Regions from separate parts of the Homo sapiens genome. Here all the other regions are linked to region 2. Evidence: promoter capture Hi-C in 16 types of primary human blood cells and fetal thymus (Javierre and others, 2016). All regions are on one chromosome and are shown on one strand. Each heading gives the region's core, a stretch centred on a gene start or on the middle of the fragment in contact. The rest is flanking DNA. Distances are from core to core; before and after follow the strand shown.

Region 1 (4,507 bases), core at 26-2,525, 76 kb after region 2:
TTGGGAGGCCAAGGCGGGTGGATTATTTGAGGTCAGTAAATTTTGAGCTTCAGGATTCTTATTGTGAAATGTAGCTAAATGTCACTTCACTAGGTTTTTGTGAAGATTAGATCATATGGTGTCTATAAAAATGCATTACAATTATAAATTATTATACAAATTTAGAAAATTTTTGGCCAGGCACGCGCTGGCTCACGCCTGTAATACCAGCACTTTGAGAGGCCGAGGCTGGAGGATCGCTTGAGCCCAGAAATTCGAGACCAGCCTGGGCAACAAAGTGAGACCCCGTTTCAATCAATCAATCAATAATCAATTCTCCGGGCGTGGGGTCGCGCCTGTGGTCCCAGATACTTGAGAGGCTGAGGCGGGAGGACTGCTTGACCCGAAATGTCGACGCTGCAGTGAGCCGAGATCGCGCCACCGCTCTCCAGCCTGGGCGACTCCCTGTCTCTGGGGAAAAACAAAAAAATAAATGAAGCCTCTCCTTCCTGGGTCTTCGGGGTAAGACTCTGCCCCTCCTGGCCGGGCACGGTGGCTGACGGCTGTAATCCCAGCACTTTGGGAGGCCGAGGCGGGTGGATCACGAGGACAGGAGATCGAGACCATCCTGGCTAACATGGTGAAACCCCGTCTCCAGTAAAATACAAAAAATTAGCAGGGCGTGGTGGCGGGCGCCTGTAGTCTCAGCTACTCGGGAAGCTGAGGCAGTGGAATCGCTTGAACCCAGGAGGCGGAGGTTGCAGTGAACCGAGATCGCACCACTGCACTCCAGCCCGGGCGACAGAGCAAGACTGTCTCAAAAAGGAAAAAAAAAAAAAAAAGACTTTGCCCCTCCTGTGAAAAGCAAAACTGAAGGCGGAACCCACAGAGCCCTCCAGGGCATGCGCAGTGGGCCTCGGAGGCAAACACCTAAGTTTCTGTGGAAAAGCCTATCCTTCCCATCCAGCCTGCAGCCTGGCCGCCAACCCTCGAGGCCGCTCCCCCGCCCCTCTCCTTCTCTGGGGGCCGCAGGGAGTAAGGCGCCATCCTTCCAATCCAGCTCTCGTCCCCACTCCCCGCAACGCAACCCAGAATGTCGTCCCCTTTGCCAGGTTTCAACATGGCGCCCCACACAAGCGCGGGCACAGCGTCTGGGCCGCACTCCCTCTTCCTTCTCTCCGGCGTGGGGCCCGCTCCTTCCAAGCCGCTTCCACTCACCTCTGCAAAGCTTGGGCTCCCTTCCGACGGAGACAGGCGAGCAGCTGCAGGCGACAGCAGATTCTCCGCGCCGGCCTCGGCCTGACCTTTACATTGGTAGCAGCAGATTCGCCGCCGACGCTCGTTTCCTGTTTGTTTTACCTTTAAAATTTTACTCCCACGCAACGAGGGTGTTATCATCTCCGAAGACAATAAGCTAAAAAAAAATTTTTTTAAGAGAAAAATTGCTAATTCAACAACTAAGTTGAAAGAAAGACTATCGAATATGCAGTTACCTGGGACATTTTACTTTATTATTTATTTATTCTTATTTATTATTTTTTCTTGAGACGGAGACTCCCTCTGTCGCCCAGGCTGGAGTGCAGTGGTGCGAACTCGGCTCACTGCAACCTCCGCCTCCCGGGTTCAAGTGATTTTCCTGCCTCAGCCTCCCGCGTAGCTGGGATTACTGGCGCCCGCCACCACGCCCGGCTATTTTTTGTATTTTTAGTAGAGACAGGGTTTTGCCATGTTGGCCAGGCTGGTCTCGAACTTCTGACCTCAAGTGATCCGCCCGCCTCGGCCTCCCAAAGTGCTGGGATTACAGGCGTGAGCCATCGCGCCCGGCCCCAATTTCTTTATAAAAAAAAAAAAAAAAAAAAAGGCCAGGTGGCATGCCTCACGCCTGTAATCCCAGCACTTCGGGAGGCCGAGGCGGGCGGATCACCTGAGGTTCGGAGTTCGAGACCAGCCTGAGCAACATGGAGAAACCCCTTCTCTACTAAAAATACAAAATTAGCTGGACATGGTGTCATGTGCCTGTAATCCCAGCCACTCAGGAGGCTGAGGCAGGAGAATCACTTGAACCCGGGAGGCAGAGGTTTCGATGAACTGAGATGGTGCCATTGCACTCCAGCCTGAACAACAAGAGTGAAAGTCCGTCTCAAAAAAAAGAAAAATCTATAGCTTAAAATTTTATGTTTGAAAATATATGGTAGCCACTGTCAGTGGAGGCCATCTGCAGTTTCAGCTACTAGGGAGGCTGAGTCGTGAGGCTTGAGGCCAGGAGTTCAAGTTCAGCCTGTCAGCCTGGGCAACAGAGCAAGACCCCTATGTTGTTGTTTGTTTGTTTGTTTTTGTTTTGTTTTGTTTGAGACAGAGTTTCACTCTTGTTGCCCATATTGGAGTGCAATGGCACGATCTCGGCTGACCGCAACCTCCGCCTCCCAGGTTCAAGCAATTCTCCTGACAGCCTTCCGAGTAGCTGGGATTACAGGCATGTGCCACCATGCCCGGCTAATTTTGTATTTTTAGTAGAGATGGGGTTTCTCCATGTTGGTCAGGCTGGTCTTGAACTCCCGATCTCAAGTGATCTGCCTGCCTTGGCCTCCCAAAGTGCTGGGATTACAGGCGTGAGCCACCACACCTGGCTGACCCCTATGCTTTTAAACACACACACACACACACACACACACACACACACACACACACACACACACACGTGGTATGTACAGTACATGCAATGGAATACTATTTCTCCTTAAAAAGAAATGAAATTCTAATTGCTACAACATCATGAATGAACGTAGTTCATGGATGAACCATGCTAAGTGAAAGAAGCATAAGGACAAATACTGTATGGTTCCACTTATATGAGGGACCTAGGATAGTCAAATTCATGGTTGGAAAGTACAGCAGTGGTTATCAGGGGCTGCTGTGGGTGTTAGGAAGATGGCGAGGTATTGTTTAACAGATACAGAGGTTCAATTTGAGATGATGAAGAAGTTCTGGAAATAGATAGTACAGATGGTTTCACAACAATGTGAATCTACCTAATGTTATTTAATAGTTAAAACAGACTGGCCGGGCGAGGAGGCTAAGGCCTGTAATCCCAGCACACTGGGAGGCCAAGTTGGGAGGATCACGAGGTGAGGAGATCAAGACCAGCCTGGCCAACATAGTGAAACCGCATCTCTACTAAAAATACAAAAATTAGCTGGGTGTGCTGGCGGGCACCTGTAATCCCAGCTACTTGGGAGGCTGAGGCAGGAGAATAGCTTGAACCTGGGAGTCAGAGGTTGCAGTGAGCCGAGATTGCGCCATGGTACTCCAGCCTAGGCGACACAGCGAGACTGCATCTCAAAAAAAAAAAAAAAAAAAAAAAAAAGAACCAGGCACGTTGGCTTACGCCTATAATCTCAGCACTTTGGGAGACCAAGGAAGGCAGATTACTTGAGGCCAGAAGTTCAAGACCAGCCACGCCAACATGGTGAAACCCCATCTCTACTAAAAATACAAAAATTAGCCAGGTGTCATAGCGCGTGCCTGTAATCCCAGCTACTCAGGAAGCTGAGGCAGGAGAATCACTTGAACCCAGGAGGCGGAGGTTGCAGTGAGCCAAGATCACGCCACTGCACTCCAGCCTGGGCGACAGAGCAAACTCCGTCTCAAAAATAAATAAATAAATAAATGAAAGTACAGTGGAAAAGGTAAATTTTATGTTACACATACATTAAAATGTCTGTGTACCCTGGTAGCAATAAGCATAACCTAGCACCCGGATCTTGGTTTCTGATATCATTCTCCAATGAAAGTAACCAGTGCTCCTTGGAGAAATAGCTGACTCTAGAACTGGGACAAAAAAATACACAAGAAGCCTGGGTGCAGTGGCTCACACCTGTAATTCCAGCACTTTGGGAGGCTGAGGCGGGTGGATCACTTGAACTCAGGAGTTCAAGACCAGTCTGGGCAACATGGTGAAACCCCGTCTCTACAAAAAGTATAAAATTAGCCAGGCCTGATGGTGCACGCCTGTACTCCCAGCATCTCAGGAGGCTGAGGTGGGAGGATCGCTTGAGCCCAGGAGCTTGAGGCTGCAGTAAACTGAGATGGTGCTATCACACTCCAGCTGGAACGAGACCCTGTCTCAAAAAAATAAAAAATAAAAAATTCGCCCAGTCATGGTGGCTCACGCCTGTAATCCCAGCACTTTGGGAGGCCGAGGCAGGCAGATCGCTTGAGGTCAGGAGTCCAAGACAAGCCTAGGCAATATGGCAAAACCGGGTATCTAATAAAAATACAAAAATTAGCCAGGTGTGATGGCACACGCCTGTGGTCCCAGCTACTTGGGACCCTGAGGTGCAAGGATCACTAGAACCCAGGAGGCTGAGGTTGTGATGAGCAGAGATTGCCCCACTGCACTCCAGCCTGGACGACAGAGCAAGACTCTGTTTCAAAACATAAATAAATAGGCCAGGTGCGGTGGCTCACACCTGTAATCCCACACTTTGGGAGGCCGAGGTGGGCGCGGATCACCTGAGGTCAGGAGTTT
Region 2 (4,513 bases), core at 304-2,803:
TCTCGAACTCCTGAGCTCTAGAAATTTTCCCACCTCGGCCTCCCAAAGTGCTGGGATTACAGGCGTGAGCCACCCCGCCTGGCCTTAATTTTTTTTTTTTTACTATTTATTTATTTATTTATTGTATTATATTATTATTTTGAGATGGAGTCTTGCTCTGTCACCCAGCCTGCAGTGCAGTGGCGCGATTTCGGCTTGCTGCAACCTCCGCCTCCCGGGTTTAAGCAACTCTCTGCCTCAGCCTCCTGAGTAGCTGGGATTACAGGCATGCGCCACCATGCCCGGCTAATTTTTGTATTTTTAGTAGAGACGGGGTTTCACCACCTTGGCTAGGCTGGTCTTGAACTCCTGACCTCGTCCACCTCAGTCTCCCAAAGTGCTGGGATTACAGGCGTGAGCCACCGCGCCCGGCCAACTTTTAGATTTTTAATCAATACGTGCCACGTTGGGGTGCGCTTTATGGCTACAAGGGCATTAAGATTTCTTCCCTCAAGGAGCCAAGATCTGACGGTGGAAACCTACCTGCAACCACACGGTGAAAACTCAGGATGCTAAGAGCAATCCTGATGGGGCAAGCAGGGGACTGTGAGTTTGCAAGGGGGTCCTTAACTCCTGCGTGGGGGGCGGGGAGGGTGGATGGGGTTCTGGGTTCAGGAAACGTTCTCCCGGGAGTGGGAGGGGGTCTGATGGACAAGTGGATTTGGCCAGCCCAAATGGACAGGGGGCCTTGGGACAAGAGAACTCGTGGTGCTGGAATGCCAAGCGGGCTTCGCTCTACTGTGAAGTGGCGTTCATGTCACAAGGAGCCAGTGATGGATGTGGCTCGGGGAGGCGCGCCCTGGGGCTCCGGGGATCCAGCATTCCTCGACACGTCGGCCCCTCTCCGGGCGCCTCTGCAAGTCCGCCTGGTGGCCGGGTCTGCGCGGAGTGTCTGCGGGCCGGGGGGGGTCCCCGTTCTCTTCCTGGGATGAGCCCCAGCCCGGGGACCTCCTCGTGACCCCTCCATCCCTCTCCAAGGCCGGGGCCGCTACCCGGAGCAGCGAATCGTCCCGCGAGACCAGCGCCCCCGGCCCCCTCTCCCGGGGCGGCCTGGACCCCTCCCGGCGGCCGGGTGGTGGGAGGAGTCAGCGCCGGGCGGGGGAGGGGCGGCCGGGGCACGGGTGAGGGGCGCCGCGGGTCCGGCGGCTGGAGAGGGGGGCCCGGAGTGCAGGCCGCGGAGTCGGCGCTTGGGGGGGTACCCCGGGGCGCCCCCGGGCGGCGGAAAGCGGGCGCGCCCCTGGCCAGGCCGGGATTGGGGCGGGGCGCGCGGCCTCCCTGTGGGGAAGCGATCACCCGGCCTCGCAGCCGCCGCCGCCAAAGTTTCCCGGAGGAGCCGCGGGCCGCCCTTCCTCTCCGGCCCCGCGCTCTGCCGCCCCTCAGGCCCGCACCGCCCCGAGGCGCCCGGCCCGGCTCCATTGAGCGCAACTCGGATCCCAACTTGGGAGGCGCCGCGGGCCTGCGCACGCGCGCGCCCTCCCCGCTGCCGCCGCCGCCGCCGCCGCCGCCGCCGCCCACTCGGGAGCAGCTCCGGGCCGAGCCGGGCGCCCAGACCCCGGGCCCGCACACCCCGCGCCGCCGCCCGTGCCCGCGCCCGCGCCCGCCGCCCGCTGCCCGCTGCGCCCTCGCCCCAGCGCCCGCTGAGCGCGCCCGCCCGCGGCCCAGGCTGGGCCCGGCCGGCCCGGCCCTCGACAGCGGCAAGTTTGGGAGTTGCACGAGTTTGCGGGGCGGGGGACAGGCCAGGAGGGTGGCCATGGAGGAGGAGCGGGGGTCGGCGCTGGCGGCCGAGTCGGCGCTGGAGAAGAACGTGGCCGAGCTGACCGTCATGGACGTGTACGACATCGCGTCGCTTGTGGGCCACGAGTTCGAGCGGGTCATTGACCAGCACGGCTGCGAGGCCATCGCGCGCCTCATGCCCAAGGTCGTGCGCGTCCTGGAGATCCTGGAGGTGCTGGTCAGCCGCCACCACGTCGCGCCCGAGCTGGACGAGCTGCGCCTGGAGCTGGACCGCCTGCGCCTGGAGAGGATGGACCGCATCGAGAAGGAGCGCAAGCACCAGAAGGTGGGCGGCGGCCTCGGTCTGTCCGTCCGGGCAGTGGGACCGCGGGGACCCAAGGGCTCTTCCGCATTGGGCAGCTGTGGGTGCGCACGTGTGTGTGTTCAGGGACCGGACCAGAGGAGACCCGACGTGGGGAGGGAGGGAGGCCCTGGCCTTCTTTTGCCCGACCAGGGGTGGCTGGCAGATACCACCCGAGAGATTAAGAGCTGTTCTCTGGAGTTCCAATCCCACCTTTACCGTTTAATAGCTGTGTGACTTTAGGTAAGTTACTTAACCTCTCTGTGCTTTATTTCCTCACCTGTCAAATGGTAATCATAATAGGACCCACCTTAGAAGAATTAAATGGGACCATATAAGCTAAGTGCTTAGACATATTATTCTCTTCCAGACATGAAATAAGCCTCTTGGCCTCCCGAGTTACCAAGAAGATGTGACATCAGGCCCAGGACCCTTTCTTCATCCCCCCCCCCCCCAGTCTCCCCAGAGCAAAGGGAATGTGACCTCCAGCCACTGAGCTTCGTGACCCCTAGTCTTCGGGTTCATATTTGCAACTTTCTTCCCGGGACTCCCCTAGCTTATGAACCTGTGGTAGCCCGTGTTCTCTCCTCTGATTTTATCCTTAATCCTCACAGGACTCTATAGAGACTATCTTCATTTTACAGATAAAGAAACCGAGGGTCACAGTGGGAGGAGCAATTTGTCCCAAATTAGTGGTGAGAGAGTCCCAGCCCCCGTGTCTCCTCCCCACCCTGTTTGAATTGGGGGAAAGGGATGATTTGGGGTGGCTTTAAGGCTAAGCCTCTGCCCTGTGATCAGGAGTCTCTCTGAATCAGGGCCTCCCCACTGGGCCTGGAGTTCAGACGAGGTTTCTGGAGAAAAGGAAGTGAAAGACATGTGGTTTCCTGCCCTAACCTCAGCCAGGGATGCTCTTGGCAGCCCCTTCAGACTGAGAATGGGAGGAAACACCTTTCCTTGAGGGATCAGGGTGCCTGAGCAGTCTCCAGCTTGCTGTTCAGCCTCAGGAAATACAGATGGCCTCTCTGAACCTCAGGGGCAGGCCATCCCTTATTGTGTACTTTGATGGATCTCTGTGTTTTGGAGTAAAATAGCCAAAGCTGGGTCTGAACCCTTTACCTGAGGGCAGACCCACAGGTAGGTAACAGCACCATTGCCATGTTTGACTGTGCTCGTCCTCATGGGTCCCTATGCCCTAGGGGCAGGAAGGAAACTCAGGCTCCCAAGAGTTGAGCAGCATTTCCGAGGTCACTCTGGGAGCCTGAAAATGCTTTGACCTGTAATTAATTTCAAGACTCCTAGAAGCTAGGACTTTGGAGCTAGACAGCCTGGTTTCAAACCCTACCACTTGCAGGCTGTGTGATCTTGGGCAAATCACCCAGCATCTCTGTGCTTCAGTTTCCTCAGTTCTAAAATGGGATAGTAATAGTACCCCCATTAGAATGTGATGAGGTTTAAAGAGTTAATATAAATACATATAAAGTGTTCAGGACAGAGCCTGCCCATAGCAAGGGCTTTGCAAGTCTTAAAATTCTTTTTAGGCCTGGAGAGACATTCATTGAGGTGCTCACAGGCTCATATTAGGAAACCGTCCCCACCCCAAGCACCTCTACTCCTACCCTAGAGGCCTCCATCTCTCATAGAGGGTCAAGGAGGCAAGGGACCTTGGAAATTCTCTCGTGTGGCGCCTCTTATTAACAGGGACCAAGGGGCTTTGACCAGATCACACAGAAGTCCTGGCACCTATACTGTCCCCCAACTGGGGCTCTTTAGTTCTGTTGCGGGGGAGCTGGGAGAAATCCTTGGAAGCCATCGGAGGCCACCAGGTCTGAAGTCACATGGAATTGTCAGCAGCTGCACTTGTTGCCTCTGGAAAGTGTTCAGCTGGGAAGTGAACACCGTGCGCTCAGGGCCAGGGCTTGTTGACTTACATTGAGGATGACCTCTCTAAATCAAGGATGCAATTCTTTTCCCACCCCAGCCCCAGACCCGTTTACTTCACATTCTTGGGATGGAGAGAGACTTGTATGATTTTTTTTTTTTTTTCCTGCAGAGTCTCAAAGGCTCTTCAAGGTGATATTTCCACAAAAATGTTTTTGGCATGTCCTGGTTTAGTCTGTCCACCTCCATTCCTCTTCCCTTTCCCCTCTTCTTCCCTACCCCTTCTTCCTTGTCTCTCTCGCTTTCAGCAATTATGGCTCCAGTAAAGGACATACACTTTCTTCCCCCTACTCCTCCTCTCAGTAGACCCACTCACTCACTTCCACTCATCACTCAGATGCAGGCCACAGTTGTGTCATGTTCTGTCTCATTACTCAGTCTGCAACTCTGATGACAGGCCATAGCGAGCACAGTGCCCTTCTTGGTACCATGGCTCTGCAGAGAAAAGCAAAGTCTCATGTC
Region 3 (4,333 bases), core at 521-3,020, 97 kb after region 2:
CAGCCTGGGCAACAGAGCAAGATTCTGTCTCTAAATAAATAAATAAACAAATAAATAAAATAAAATAAAATAAAATAAAAAGAAACGACCCTCTGAAAATAGTGTGTTTTGTTAATTTGCTTTGCTTTTGTTGGTTGGTTTAATCTATGTACATTCTCCATTGAGATTCTAGTACCTCAGTGTGGAGAAAATGGATACACCTATCACAAGGAAAGCTGCCAATACATTCCTGGGAAAGACAAGCCCCGTTGCTGAGCTTTCTGCCTGAGACTATCACAAACCTCCAGTGAAACCTAAAATAACTTGAGATTTGTTGTGCCTTTTTTTTTGAGACATGATCTTACTCTGTCACCATGGTCCCACTCTGTCACAGGCACCACTCTGTGGTGAGATCTTGGCTCACTGCAGCCTCAACATCCCGGGCTCAAGTGGTCCTCCCACCTCAGCCTCCCGAGTACCTGCCACTACAGGCATGAACCACTGTGTCCAGCTACTTTTGTTTACTTTTTGTAGAGACAGGGTCTCACTATGATGCCCAAGCTAGTCTCAAATTCCTGGGCTCAAGCAATCCTCCTGCGTCAGCCTCCTGAAGTGTTGAGATTAAGGCATGAGCCACAGCGAATGACTCAAGTTTCTACGCCACTCTGCTAATATTCTCAGTAATATGGATTCCGCATATGTGTCGAATGCTTTGTGATTTTCAGACAGGGGTTTCTCTCTTGTTAATTACTCCTCCTTCTCTCACCCAAGTAGCAAGGTGTCTCCAACACCAGCAATTCCTCCCTAGCGCTGTGGAAGAAAGAATGAAGGGGCCGGGCGCGGTGGCTCACGCCTGTAATCCCAGCACTTTGGGAGGCCGAGGCAGGTGGATCACGAGGTCAGGAGATCGAGACCATCCTGGCGAACATGGTGAAACCCCGTCTCTACTAAAAATACAAAAAAATTAGCCGGGCGTGGTGGCGCGTGCCTGTAGTCCCAGCTACTCGGGAGGCTGAGGCAGGAGAATGGCGTGAACCTGGGAGGCGGAGCTTGCAGCAAGCCGAGATCGCGCCACTGCACTCCAGCCTGGGCGACACAGGGAGACTCCGTCTCAAAAAAAAAAAGAAAGAAAGAAAGAAAGAAAGAATGAAGGATTGCAGTCACGTATGTGAGTGCTTCCTAAGTGCTTGAGGTGTCGCACACATGATCTCATAAGCTCATGTTCCTCGCAGCAACCCTGCCACCTGGGTCCCGCTATTGTCCCCATTTTACAGAGGAGGAGACTGAGGCTCGGAGACGTTAAGTAACTTGCCAAGGTGACAGCGCTGGTTACGTGGAGGAGCCGAGGACCCAGCGAAGTGAGCAGGGCAGACATTCTCCATTTTATTGAGAGTCACAGCGAAGTCGGACGCCCCAGGCCCTAGTGACAATTTGCCTGGGAGTTTTCCAGATCCTCAAGCCTCGGGGACTCTGTCGCGCTGCCCCCAGCAGCTGCTTTCTGTTTGGCCGCAGGCTCCAGAAAACACCCTCAAAGAGACACCCGGATCTTCCATCACCTACGATGCAAATTCTACGGCTGGAAAGCACGAGGGTGGAAAGGAAAAAGTTGCGTTCTTTTTACCCCGCTCTGGATTGCACGGTGGAAACTCCGTCTCCACGGAAACGCACCTCCTGGCAGCGGTCGCCAGGGGCGGGGCTCAGGGCGGCTCCTCCCCGGGGCTGCAACTGTTCCCAGGCTGGGGCGATTGCCGTCACCCCTGAACTTCCCCGTTCCTCTTCTCGGCTGCCTCCTTTTCCGTTGTCCCTTCGCGCCCCAAACCACATCCTGGAGCGCACTCTCCAGCGTGGCTGGCAGCGGGGACGGTGCGCCGGGGCGCAGGCCCAAGAGTCGCGTGCGCGGCCCCTTGCACCATCCCCCCGGGCCCACCCCCGGGCCGCGCTGATTGGGCAGGTAGGGACTCTGCCCAGCGGAAAGTTTTGGGTGCCGGGAGGAAGTCTAACCTTTGGGAGACTCCAAGACAGCAGCTCCGAGGTCGGCGGGGGTCTGGGTGGCCATGGAGGAGCCCCCTGTGCGAGAAGAGGAAGAGGAGGAGGGAGAGGAGGACGAGGAGAGGGACGAGGTTGGGCCCGAGGGGGCGCTGGGCAAGAGCCCCTTCCAGCTGACCGCCGAGGACGTGTATGACATCTCCTACCTGTTGGGCCGCGAGCTTATGGCCCTGGGCAGCGACCCCCGGGTGACGCAGCTGCAGTTCAAAGTCGTCCGCGTCCTGGAGATGCTGGAGGCGCTGGTGAATGAGGGCAGCCTGGCGCTGGAGGAGCTGAAGATGGAGAGGGACCACCTCAGGAAGGAGGTGGAGGGGCTGCGGAGACAGAGCCCTCCGGCCAGCGGGGAGGTGAGTGTGGGAGCGAGGGTTCCGGGCCCACGGCGCCTGCGGGGCGTAGGAGGGCACCTACTGGCAGGGAGACGCCTTCCTTTTCTTTTCTCTTCTCTTTTCTCTTTTTTCTTTTTTTAAGAGATGGGATCTCGCTGTGTTGCCCAGGCTGGTCTCAAACTCCTGGCTCCAAGTGATCCCCCAGCCTCAGCCTCCTAGAGTGCTGGGTTTACAGGTGTGAGCCACCCTGCCTGGCCAGAATCTGTATTTCTAACGAGTTCGCAGTTAATGCTGATGCTATTGGCCCAGGGTCCACAGTTTGAGAACCTTTGACCTAGAGCAAGAAACACTTTTTTTTTCTTTTGACACAGGGTCCTGCTCTATCTCCCAGGCTAGAGTGCAGTGGTGCAAACACGGCTCACTACAGCCTTGGCCTCCTAGGCTCAAGCAATTCTCCTGCCTTGCCCTTCCAAGTAGCTGGGAGTACAGGCATGTGCCACCATGCCTGGCTAACTTTTTTGATGTTTTGTAGAGATGGGGGTCTCACCGTTACCCAGGCTGGTCTCAAACTCCTAAGCTCAAGGAATCCTCCCACCTTGGCCTCCCAAAGTGCTGGGCTTGTGGATGTGAGCCACCACACTTGGACAAGAAACACATTTTACCTAAAGAGAAATTAGTGCATATGACCACAAAAAGACATAGACAAGAAGATTCAGAGCAGCTTTAGTCTCAGCTGCCAAACTGGAAACACTCTAAATGCAACCCAATTGAGTTTTGAAATTGTGATATATGGAATACTATGCAACAGAGAAAAAGAACGGGGTGCTGATACACACAGCAGTGTGAATGAATCTCACAGATGTAACATTGAGAGAAAGAAGCCAGGCACTAAAGAGAAACTACTGTAGATTTTTTTTTTTTTTGAGTCAGAATCTTGCTCTGTTGCTCAGACTGTAGTGCAGTGGCGTGACCTCGACTCACTGCAACCTCCACCTCCTGGATTCAAGCGATTCTCCTGCCTCAGCCTCCTGAGCAGCTGGGATTGCAAGCGTGTGCCACCACGCGTGGCTATTTTTTTTTTTTCTTTTTTGGTAGAGACGGGGTTTCACCATGTTGGCCAGGCTGGTCTCAAACTCCTGGCCTCAAGTGACCCACCCACCTCAGCCTTCCAAAGTGCTGGGATTACAGGCCTGAGCCACAGCACCCAGCCCTACTGTACATTTAAATAAAATTCATGAACAGGCAAAATAATTTATAGTTATAGAAGGCAAACTGGTGGTGGGGGGAAAAGAAGGGAAATTGATAGAGAGCTAGAAGTGTCCCATATCTTAATCAGGGTATGGATATAGGGATCTACACATATGTTAAAAATCATCTGGCTGGGTGCTGTGACTCACGCCTGTAATCCCAGCACTTTGGGAGGCCAAGGCGGGCAGATCACAAGGTCAGGAATTTGAGACCAGCCTGGCCAACATGGTGAAACTCTATCTCTACTAAAACTACAGAAAAAAATTAGCCGGGCGTGGTGGCGGGTGCCTGTAATCCCAGCTACTCGGGAGGCTGAGGCCGGAGAATTGCTTGAAACCGGAAGGCAGAGGTTGCAGTGAGCCGAGATCGCGCCACTGCACTCCAGGTTGGGTGACAGAGCGAGATTTTGTCTCAAAAAAAAAAAAAAAGTCTTTTTTGCGGGGACAGCTTTCTCTGTCATCCAGGCTGGAATACCATGGTGTGATCACAGCTCACTGAGGCCTCAAACTCCTGGGCTCAAGCAGTCCTCCCACTTCAGCCTCTCCAGTAGCTAGGACTACAGGCACACACCAACCACCTGGCTAATTTTTGTATTTTTGTAGAGATGGGGGTCTCACCATGTTGCCCAGGCTGGTCTCGAACTCCTGGGCTTAAGTGATACGCCCACCTCAGCCTCCCAAAGTGCTGGGATTACAGGCCTGAGCCACCATGCCCAGCCTAGTTTTTAAAATTCT

What was found. The method cuts DNA at HindIII sites, captures the fragments that hold promoters and counts their contacts. A CHiCAGO score of 5 or more calls a contact.
Region 1: the fragment with the promoter of SNRNP35 here is called in contact with the fragment with the promoter of RILPL1 in region 2 in 1 of 17 cell types (total CD4 T cells); the score reaches 5.6 in total CD4 T cells.
Region 3: the fragment with the promoter of RILPL2 here is called in contact with the fragment with the promoter of RILPL1 in region 2 in 1 of 17 cell types (total CD4 T cells); the score reaches 5.3 in total CD4 T cells.

Annotation. Positions count from the first base shown.
Region 1 is chr12:123,454,907-123,459,413 of GRCh38, reverse strand. It overlaps SNRNP35 (small nuclear ribonucleoprotein U11/U12 subunit 35), which reads right to left and starts at 1,275. Exons shown (of 2, transcript NM_022717.4): 1 at 1,198-1,275. RefSeq lists enhancers at 1-721, 968-1,047, 722-1,588. The HindIII fragment of the contact is 10,721 bases long and covers 1,210-4,507 here.
Region 2 is chr12:123,530,759-123,535,271 of GRCh38, reverse strand. RILPL1 (Rab interacting lysosomal protein like 1) reads left to right here and starts at 1,553. Exons shown (of 7, transcript NM_178314.5): 1 at 1,553-2,098. The coding sequence starts at 1,790. RefSeq lists silencers at 625-810, 830-1,519 and an enhancer at 1,735-2,552. The HindIII fragment of the contact is 17,367 bases long and covers 1-4,513 here.
Region 3 is chr12:123,434,121-123,438,453 of GRCh38, reverse strand. RILPL2 (Rab interacting lysosomal protein like 2) reads left to right here and starts at 1,770. Exons shown (of 4, transcript NM_145058.3): 1 at 1,770-2,372. The coding sequence starts at 2,034. RefSeq lists a silencer at 1,764-2,023 and an enhancer at 1,865-2,794. The HindIII fragment of the contact is 15,954 bases long and covers 1-4,333 here.